2 separate regions of the Homo sapiens genome follow, and region 2 is linked to region 1. Evidence: promoter capture Hi-C in human tissues and cell types (Jung and others, 2019). All regions are on one chromosome and are shown on one strand. The core of a region is centred on a gene start or on the middle of the fragment in contact, and the rest is flanking DNA. Distances in the headings are between cores, read along the strand shown.

Evidence for each region. The method cuts DNA at HindIII sites, captures the fragments that hold promoters and counts their contacts. A contact is called where the count stands out against the background at its distance.
Region 2: a fragment that was not itself captured here is called in contact with the fragment with the promoter of KRT5 in region 1 in 1 of the 25 tissues and cell types used here (adrenal gland).

The regions. Positions count from the first base shown.
Region 1 is chr12:52,519,144-52,522,720 of GRCh38, reverse strand. KRT5 (keratin 5) reads left to right here and starts at 2,327. Exons shown (of 9, transcript NM_000424.4): 1 at 2,327-2,979; 2 at 3,561-3,577. The coding sequence starts at 2,425. RefSeq lists enhancers at 1-420, 3,240-3,577. The HindIII fragment of the contact is 8,601 bases long and covers 1-3,577 here.
Region 2 is chr12:52,278,021-52,281,848 of GRCh38, reverse strand. All of the region lies in intron 2 of KRT86 (keratin 86), which reads right to left. KRT86-AS2 (KRT86 antisense RNA 2) reads left to right here and starts at 2,693. Exons shown (of 2, transcript NR_199073.1): 1 at 2,693-2,908. RefSeq lists an enhancer at 573-1,772. The HindIII fragment of the contact is 5,713 bases long and covers 1-3,828 here.

The DNA of each region.
Region 1 (3,577 bases), core at 1,078-3,577:
GCCCTGCCTGCTCATGGGAGGATTCCCACGAAGCTCGGATAGAAGAGTGCTGCTGCTTCTCCCATGGAGCACCCACATGCTCCCTGCTCCCATGGAGCACCACACACTCACCGTTGGTCCCTGGCACATGGATCTGAGCTTGGCACACTCTAGCAATCCTCAGACTAGCCAGAACGCATTCCTGCTCTGCCAAGTCCTCTTTCTTCACAACACAGCTGGGAGGAGAATGAATGGGGAGAAGAGAATGTCCCAGTGTCTCAGGAGGGGTGGGGCTTCCCTGAGGGCAGTGAGGTCTGTACCCGGGACCTGTGAGTGTATGTGGTGGTGGGGATATACCCCGATATCGATCTTTGAGTGGAGCAGGAGCATCCCACTACGAGTCCTCAGACACTTGCTTCAGGCTTGGATCTGTTCTGTTCTATCAGGAGCCGAGGGTCCCCTGGTATGTCTCAGGCCTCCAGGACACTCACATCTGTTCTCCAGAAAGCAACCAAATGTGAAAATGGTGAGCTCAGCACAATTCATCTCTGAGGGTCTCAGAAATGCTCCAGCCAGGGAGGCCACCCAAACCATTTTGCTCAAGACCTGTAAGACCGGCTCCGGCCATTGGTCTGTCTGCCGAGATTGACCTGTCAGCTGCTTGCTCATCGCAGCCCTCTGGTGAGAAGTCACTGTTTCAGCTGATCCTCAGCACCAGGGAGTCATTTTCCCACTGCCTTGGCTTCCTTGTGGCCAACCGCAGGCCCTGGTGAGAGATTCCTGAGCCTGGGTCTGGTCCTGTTCTTCTACTCTTGAGAATATAGCCCCTCCTCCCTGAGGCTTTGAAGCCATCCCCATTGCATTCCTACCTCCAGCCTCGGGCCACAGGGCGCCCCCGAAACTCTGAACAGCCCAAGCACTGTCCTGCCTGAGAGCCCTGCTTCTATTTGGGGGACGGCAGAGAGGTGGCCCCACTCAGATCTGCTGCCAAAAAGAGTGGGTGTGGTTTAGAACAGACGTGTGTTAAAACCTCATCAGAAACCCCCTTTCCTCCACCTGGTGCCACAACCCCCCAGACAAGTTTTGCAGAGGGGATCTCAAAGGGCCCTCCCTAAAGCAGCTGGCAGATTGTCATGCCAGCTGCCTGGGCCCACAGGCCTGCTCTGGCTAGCCTTTCTGGCAGGACAATCCATAGACTTAGAATCCCGTTTTCCATTGCCTTGGCCCTGAAGGAGGCTGTGGGCTACAGCATAGAGAAAGCAGAGCAAGTCCCGCTGCTTGGAACAGGGTGGTTCGCCGTTATAACAGGCCGTCAGACTCTCAACATGTTCCTGATGAGATTAGAAGCTCCTGCAGGTATGTGTTTGTGGCGGCCTTCAGCCTGTATCAACACATACGATGACTCATTTCTTCCCTAGTGGAATAGAGCTTGCTGGAACACACCTGGGGGGCTGGGGAACCGGCAGAGTAGCTACCCCCAAAGAGAGACGCTATAGCCCATGAGTCTCAGGGTTTTTTTTTAAGGGATTGCATGGGATCCCCGGGTTTCCTAAACCCCCCACAGAGTCCTGCCCAGGCCAAAGAGCAAGGAAAAGGTCAAAGGGCAGAAAAAATGCTGAGTTAGGAGGAGCTATGGAAGGATAAACCTGGCCTTAAAGAGGTCAAAGTGGTTTATAGGGGGCGCTGAGGGCTTCCCACATTCTCTGGCCTAAACCTTGCAGGCAGATCTGCCCAGTGGGCTCTGGGATAGCTGTGCCTTCCCTAAGAAAAAAATTGTGCAGAAAAGGATGAAACTCTATTTTCCCTCTAGCACATAACCAAGAATATAAGGCTACAGATTGCCTTTCCCAGAGGGGAAAACCCTGCAGCAACCTGCTGCCTGGAAAAGTGTAAGAGCAGATCACTGGGGAATCGTTTGCCCCCCGCTGATGGACAGCTTCCCCAAGCTGGAAGGGCAGGTGCTCAGCATGTACCGTACTGGGATGGTTGTCAATACTCCTGGTCCTGTAAGAGTCCCCAGGACACTGGCCATGCCAATGCCCCCTCAGTTCCTGGCATCCTTTTTGGGCTGCTCACAGCCCCCAGCCTCTATGGTGAAGACATACTTGCTAGCAGCGTCACCAACTTGCTGCCAAGAGATCAGTGCTGCAAGGCAAGGTTATTTCTAACTGAGCAGAGCCTGCCAGGAAGAAAGCGTTTGCACCCCACACCACTGTGCAGGTGTGACCGGTGAGCTCACAGCTGCCCCCCAGGCATGCCCAGCCCACTTAATCATTCACAGCTCGACAGCTCTCTCGCCCAGCCCAGTTCTGGAAGGGATAAAAAGGGGGCATCACCGTTCCTGGGTAACAGAGCCACCTTCTGCGTCCTGCTGAGCTCTGTTCTCTCCAGCACCTCCCAACCCACTAGTGCCTGGTTCTCTTGCTCCACCAGGAACAAGCCACCATGTCTCGCCAGTCAAGTGTGTCCTTCCGGAGCGGGGGCAGTCGTAGCTTCAGCACCGCCTCTGCCATCACCCCGTCTGTCTCCCGCACCAGCTTCACCTCCGTGTCCCGGTCCGGGGGTGGCGGTGGTGGTGGCTTCGGCAGGGTCAGCCTTGCGGGTGCTTGTGGAGTGGGTGGCTATGGCAGCCGGAGCCTCTACAACCTGGGGGGCTCCAAGAGGATATCCATCAGCACTAGTGGTGGCAGCTTCAGGAACCGGTTTGGTGCTGGTGCTGGAGGCGGCTATGGCTTTGGAGGTGGTGCCGGTAGTGGATTTGGTTTCGGCGGTGGAGCTGGTGGTGGCTTTGGGCTCGGTGGCGGAGCTGGCTTTGGAGGTGGCTTCGGTGGCCCTGGCTTTCCTGTCTGCCCTCCTGGAGGTATCCAAGAGGTCACTGTCAACCAGAGTCTCCTGACTCCCCTCAACCTGCAAATCGACCCCAGCATCCAGAGGGTGAGGACCGAGGAGCGCGAGCAGATCAAGACCCTCAACAATAAGTTTGCCTCCTTCATCGACAAGGTGAGCTACGATCTTTTGTAAAAAATCACTGTGGGTCTGAAATAAATGCCAAAGAGAGAGAAAGAAGGAAGATGTTTTGGCTTTGTGCAAATACTTTTATAGTTGTACAGTTCTGTGTTTCCGTTTGTTTCTGTGCCCTGGATTTGTGGACACGTTCTGAATTAGACTGGCAGCTGGGAAGGGAGAATTATTTCTTCCCATTCAGAGGTTAGCTCACAAGGGCCTCTTAACAACTGTTGGACAGAGAGATGAATTTCATGCCATATATAAAGGGGCTGACTGTACAGGAAGGTAGACAAGTGCATGGGCAGCAGCCTGAGTGCCTTTGCAGCCACCCCTGAGCCGGGACACACTCCAAGCAGCACTCCTAGTGCTTTCTGTGCCCTGGATAGGTGTCCTATCTCCCCCTGGAAAAGTGAGTTTGGGTGCCTCAGTCTGCACCTCCCCTCCTGGGGCCCAGGGCCAGGCACAGTGCACAGAAAAGCTTTAGAGGGACGGAAAGAGGTGGGAGGCACCTTAGTGAGTTGATCATAGAACATGAAATCCAAGTTTCTCTATCTTCAAACCCTGCTCCCCTCCAGGTGCGGTTCCTGGAGCA
Region 2 (3,828 bases), core at 111-2,610, 240 kb after region 1:
GAGGATCGCTTCAGCCCAGGAGGTTGAGGCTGCAGTGAGCTATAATCCTGCCACTGCACTCTAGCCTGGGTGATAGAGCAAGACTTCATCACTACAAAAATAAATTTAAAATTAAATAAGAAGGAAAAAAAGAATCTTCACAATTTAGATCTAGAGGAGGGCAGGACTGAGGCCCAGAAACAGGTGAAGAGTTTGGACAAGGTAAGAATAAGACTGGGAACAGGATCAAGGCCCTTCCTTCCTTACTCCAGGCTGGTCTGGTTGATCTCTTACAGCTGAAATCACAGCAGGAAGGACTGCATTTAGACTCCACAAGAGACTTCCAAGGGGTTATGCAGAATGCCACATGCCAATGGTCAAAAACAGGGCCCAATACATCTCAGGACAGGACACACCAACCAGGACCATGCAGCCTCAACCCCATCACATCTACTCTGTGGCAGACCCTGAGGATGGATGAGACCTTCACTGCCCTCCTGGGGCTCAGATAGAGACATGACCACAGCCAAGTTAGCATCTGACATGTTTAAATACAACGGAGTGTGAGGCAGGCATGCAGAGCCAACAGAGGACTCACACCTTATAGTGCCCTTCTGCTGAGAAGCAATGACTGAACTGAGGACAGCCCTCCTCCCTTCAGAAGCCACCCGACTCACAAAGCTTATAAATGGGCTGGGGAATGACTCTCCATAAATGCACTGGGCAGTTTCCTCCCACCCCAGTCTGGAATGTGGCCCATGGCCAGGGGAGCCTCTCAGGGAATTAGTCTCCAAACCACAAACATTGCTTGTGATCCACAGGGCCCTGGCCCAGGAAGAAACTCAAACCTGACCCCAAAGCCCTGGGGATCTTCTGGATTGACATCAGGCAAGTCCAGGTTCGGTATTTGAAAAGGGAAAATGTGAGCAACAGTCCTGAGTGACGCAGGTTGCAGAATGTACATCCTAGATCCTGCCTACAATTCCCACAAAGTTCCCTTGTTGACATGATCATCATAGCAGGAGCTGGAGAAAATTGGGCTTGAATAGCAGAGAATCTCATGATCCCCTAGCAAAATGCAAGGAGCACAGAGCTGGACTAAAGAATCTTGAAAGAATCTTCAGGCAGCTTGTTTGCATTTGCGAGTGTTGGCAGGTCAGTATTTATCAACCAGGGCTGATGTGTGAGCCCAGTGGGGTCATGCCCCCTACCCCTCAGGAGGGTGGCATCCGGCTAGCCAAGTTTCAGTCCCATTCCTCTTGCATGAGACTTTTCTGTTTACACAAGAAGAGGGCCTTTTGGATACCTGTCCTCTGGGCAGGCACCCAGAAGAACACAGCAGACACTCTGGCACTAGAGTGCCTTAAAAAGTAAAGCCCAAGCCTCTGGCCAATGACGCACTTCAGCCCCACCCAGGGACATAGAAAGCAGAAACTATTGTTGCATTGATGATGTAATTTCATGCAATAGAAAGGAATGTGGGCTCACTGTACAGAAGCTTCTCTTGGGTCTGTGTGGCAGGGAAAGAACCCAGAAATCCAGCCTTTATCTAGCCACCCCACTCTATCTTCCGACCACCAAAATCCAATGCCTTGTAAAAACTCGGACCAACTTACACCCTGGATCTGAAGTAGAGACAGAGCTGGAGCCTCCGTCTGATTTCACAGCCCACAATTTCCTCCACCATAGTGTGTTGTTCCTCTGCCCGCCACCAGATCATATTAACACAACTCGGTGGCCCAATTGTGTGTTAAACCAGAACCCAAGCTTGGGCCACCCAATTGTGTTCATCTCTCTCCAGCCCCCATCTGCAAGGGCCACCTGTCTTCAAATGCCCCATCAGGGTGATAGAAGGCACTGGCCCAATCCCCATCTCACCCTTTTCTGTTTCTGCTCGGTTTCCTCGTCTATGGCCCACCTCCCTACCCAGAACCTCATCTCCAGGAATCCTAGAGTGTCTTCCTCACCATCCTGTCCCCTGAACCAAGCACTATGAGGCCATTCAGTAAGTATGTGTAGAGTGAATGGATGGATGGAGAATGGAATTCTCAGCTCTGCTGCCCAGAAGCTATGGGCCCCAGGCTAGACTCTTCTGCATGAATGAACCCTTTCTCTCGCTTTCCCCATGGACTCCGGGCTCCCCATCCTAAAGACTCTGGTTCTATAATATCGAATCATCATATACTTAAGTCACATAGACCCTCACAGCAGGAGGGGAGGAGGTTGCTTCCTGGTACTGTTCTCGCCCTGACCCCTCCACCGCAGCCAGGTTTGTCTGTGCTCTGGGAATGGCCTGGAGAATCCGGGTTTAAACTCCTGGCAGCTCAGACCACTCCACAACTTTTTATTGCAGAGAAGTCCCTGGAAAGAAGGGGTGGGAACAGTTCAGAGGGGCAGGGTTCTTGGTCCAGGTAAGCTGGCCACCTCTACCCAATGGCACCAGCGTCCAGGCCATCTGCACTGGGGATGGTCAGTCATAGTCCTGTAAGCTGTGCTCCAACGCCTCACGTCCCGGTGTGGGAGGCAAAAAGGAAAGATGATGTGGGGTCAGCTCTATGGGAGGGGGCATCTGACACAAGAGGGCTAAGTCTTTAGGGCAGAAGCTGAGGGTTCCTTGTCTTCTCCGGAGGGAGGCGGGAAGGGTTCAACATCTGCGGGAGCTGTGTAGCTAAAGCCCACGGACACAGCCGGGAGAGCCGCAGAGCGCGTAGCCGCCGCCAGGGGCGCTCGTCTCCAGGGCGCCGGAGCCTGCTCGGGGCTGGAGCAGGCAGGCGGAGCCCGGCTGAACGGAGGACGACTGTCCGAGGGAGGAAAGCCCTTCCTCCCCCCACCCCAAGCCCCAGAAGACAGACTTGCAGACATCTCCTCCAGATACACAGACCCTCCTCCCCACCAGGAGACAGATGTACAAACTCCCCGAAAGGAACAGGTAAACAGACCTCTCCCCAGAGAACAGACCACAGGACCCCCTTCCCCACACACGCAAACGCAGTCACCCCCGAGAGAAGAAATAGCCCCCGACAAAAGGAGAGGCACAGAGGGAGCTGTCACAGACACAGGAACAGAAACACAGCCCTTCTGCCTTCTCAAGAGGAGGCACGCCAAGGTGTGGACGGGGAAGGAGGGAATAAGGAGAATAAGATAATAAGATAAGATCCGACCATGCCAGCCTACTGTTTACTTACTGATGCTCCTTGCCCCAAATCCCAGACCAAGCCAGCGGAAAGAAGGAAGCAGGTGAGTCCATCTGTCTACTAGGTTTGGTATTCTGCATTCCCCAGGACACACACTCCTGACCCTCCCAGACAGCAGTCCTTCCACCCTGCAAGCTCCCTGGCGCTCTCTGATCACTCCTGCCTTAAATTCATATAACTCACTTTTGTTGATGACTTTTTGGAGGAAAGAGAAGACCAAAAAAAAAAAAAAAAAAACTACACTTTCTTTGGCCTGACTTGATCTTGGAAGGTGAGACCGTGAGGGAACATTTTAAACCTCTACAGGAGACCCCAGAGCAGGTAGCTCCATAATCTGAAGACTAGTGTGTGTCCCTAAAGCTGTCACTTAACCTCTCTGAAACTTACCCCTCATCTGTAAAATGGGGATAATAGGACCTCCCTGCCAGGGTTTTGTGAGGTGTTAAAGGAGGTGATCAATGCAATATGCCTGTGGCATGGGTGATCAGTTCCCCCTCCCTCCCCTAGCCTGGTGACAGCCCTTGTCTCCTACTGTTGTCTACTGAGTTGAAAGCCAAGCCCCACCTGGTCATGTAACCCCACCTTCCCCAGGCCTGGGGAGAGGGGCAGAGTTGAGAAGAAGGCACTTCACACAGAGACCTTATTCCCACTGGCT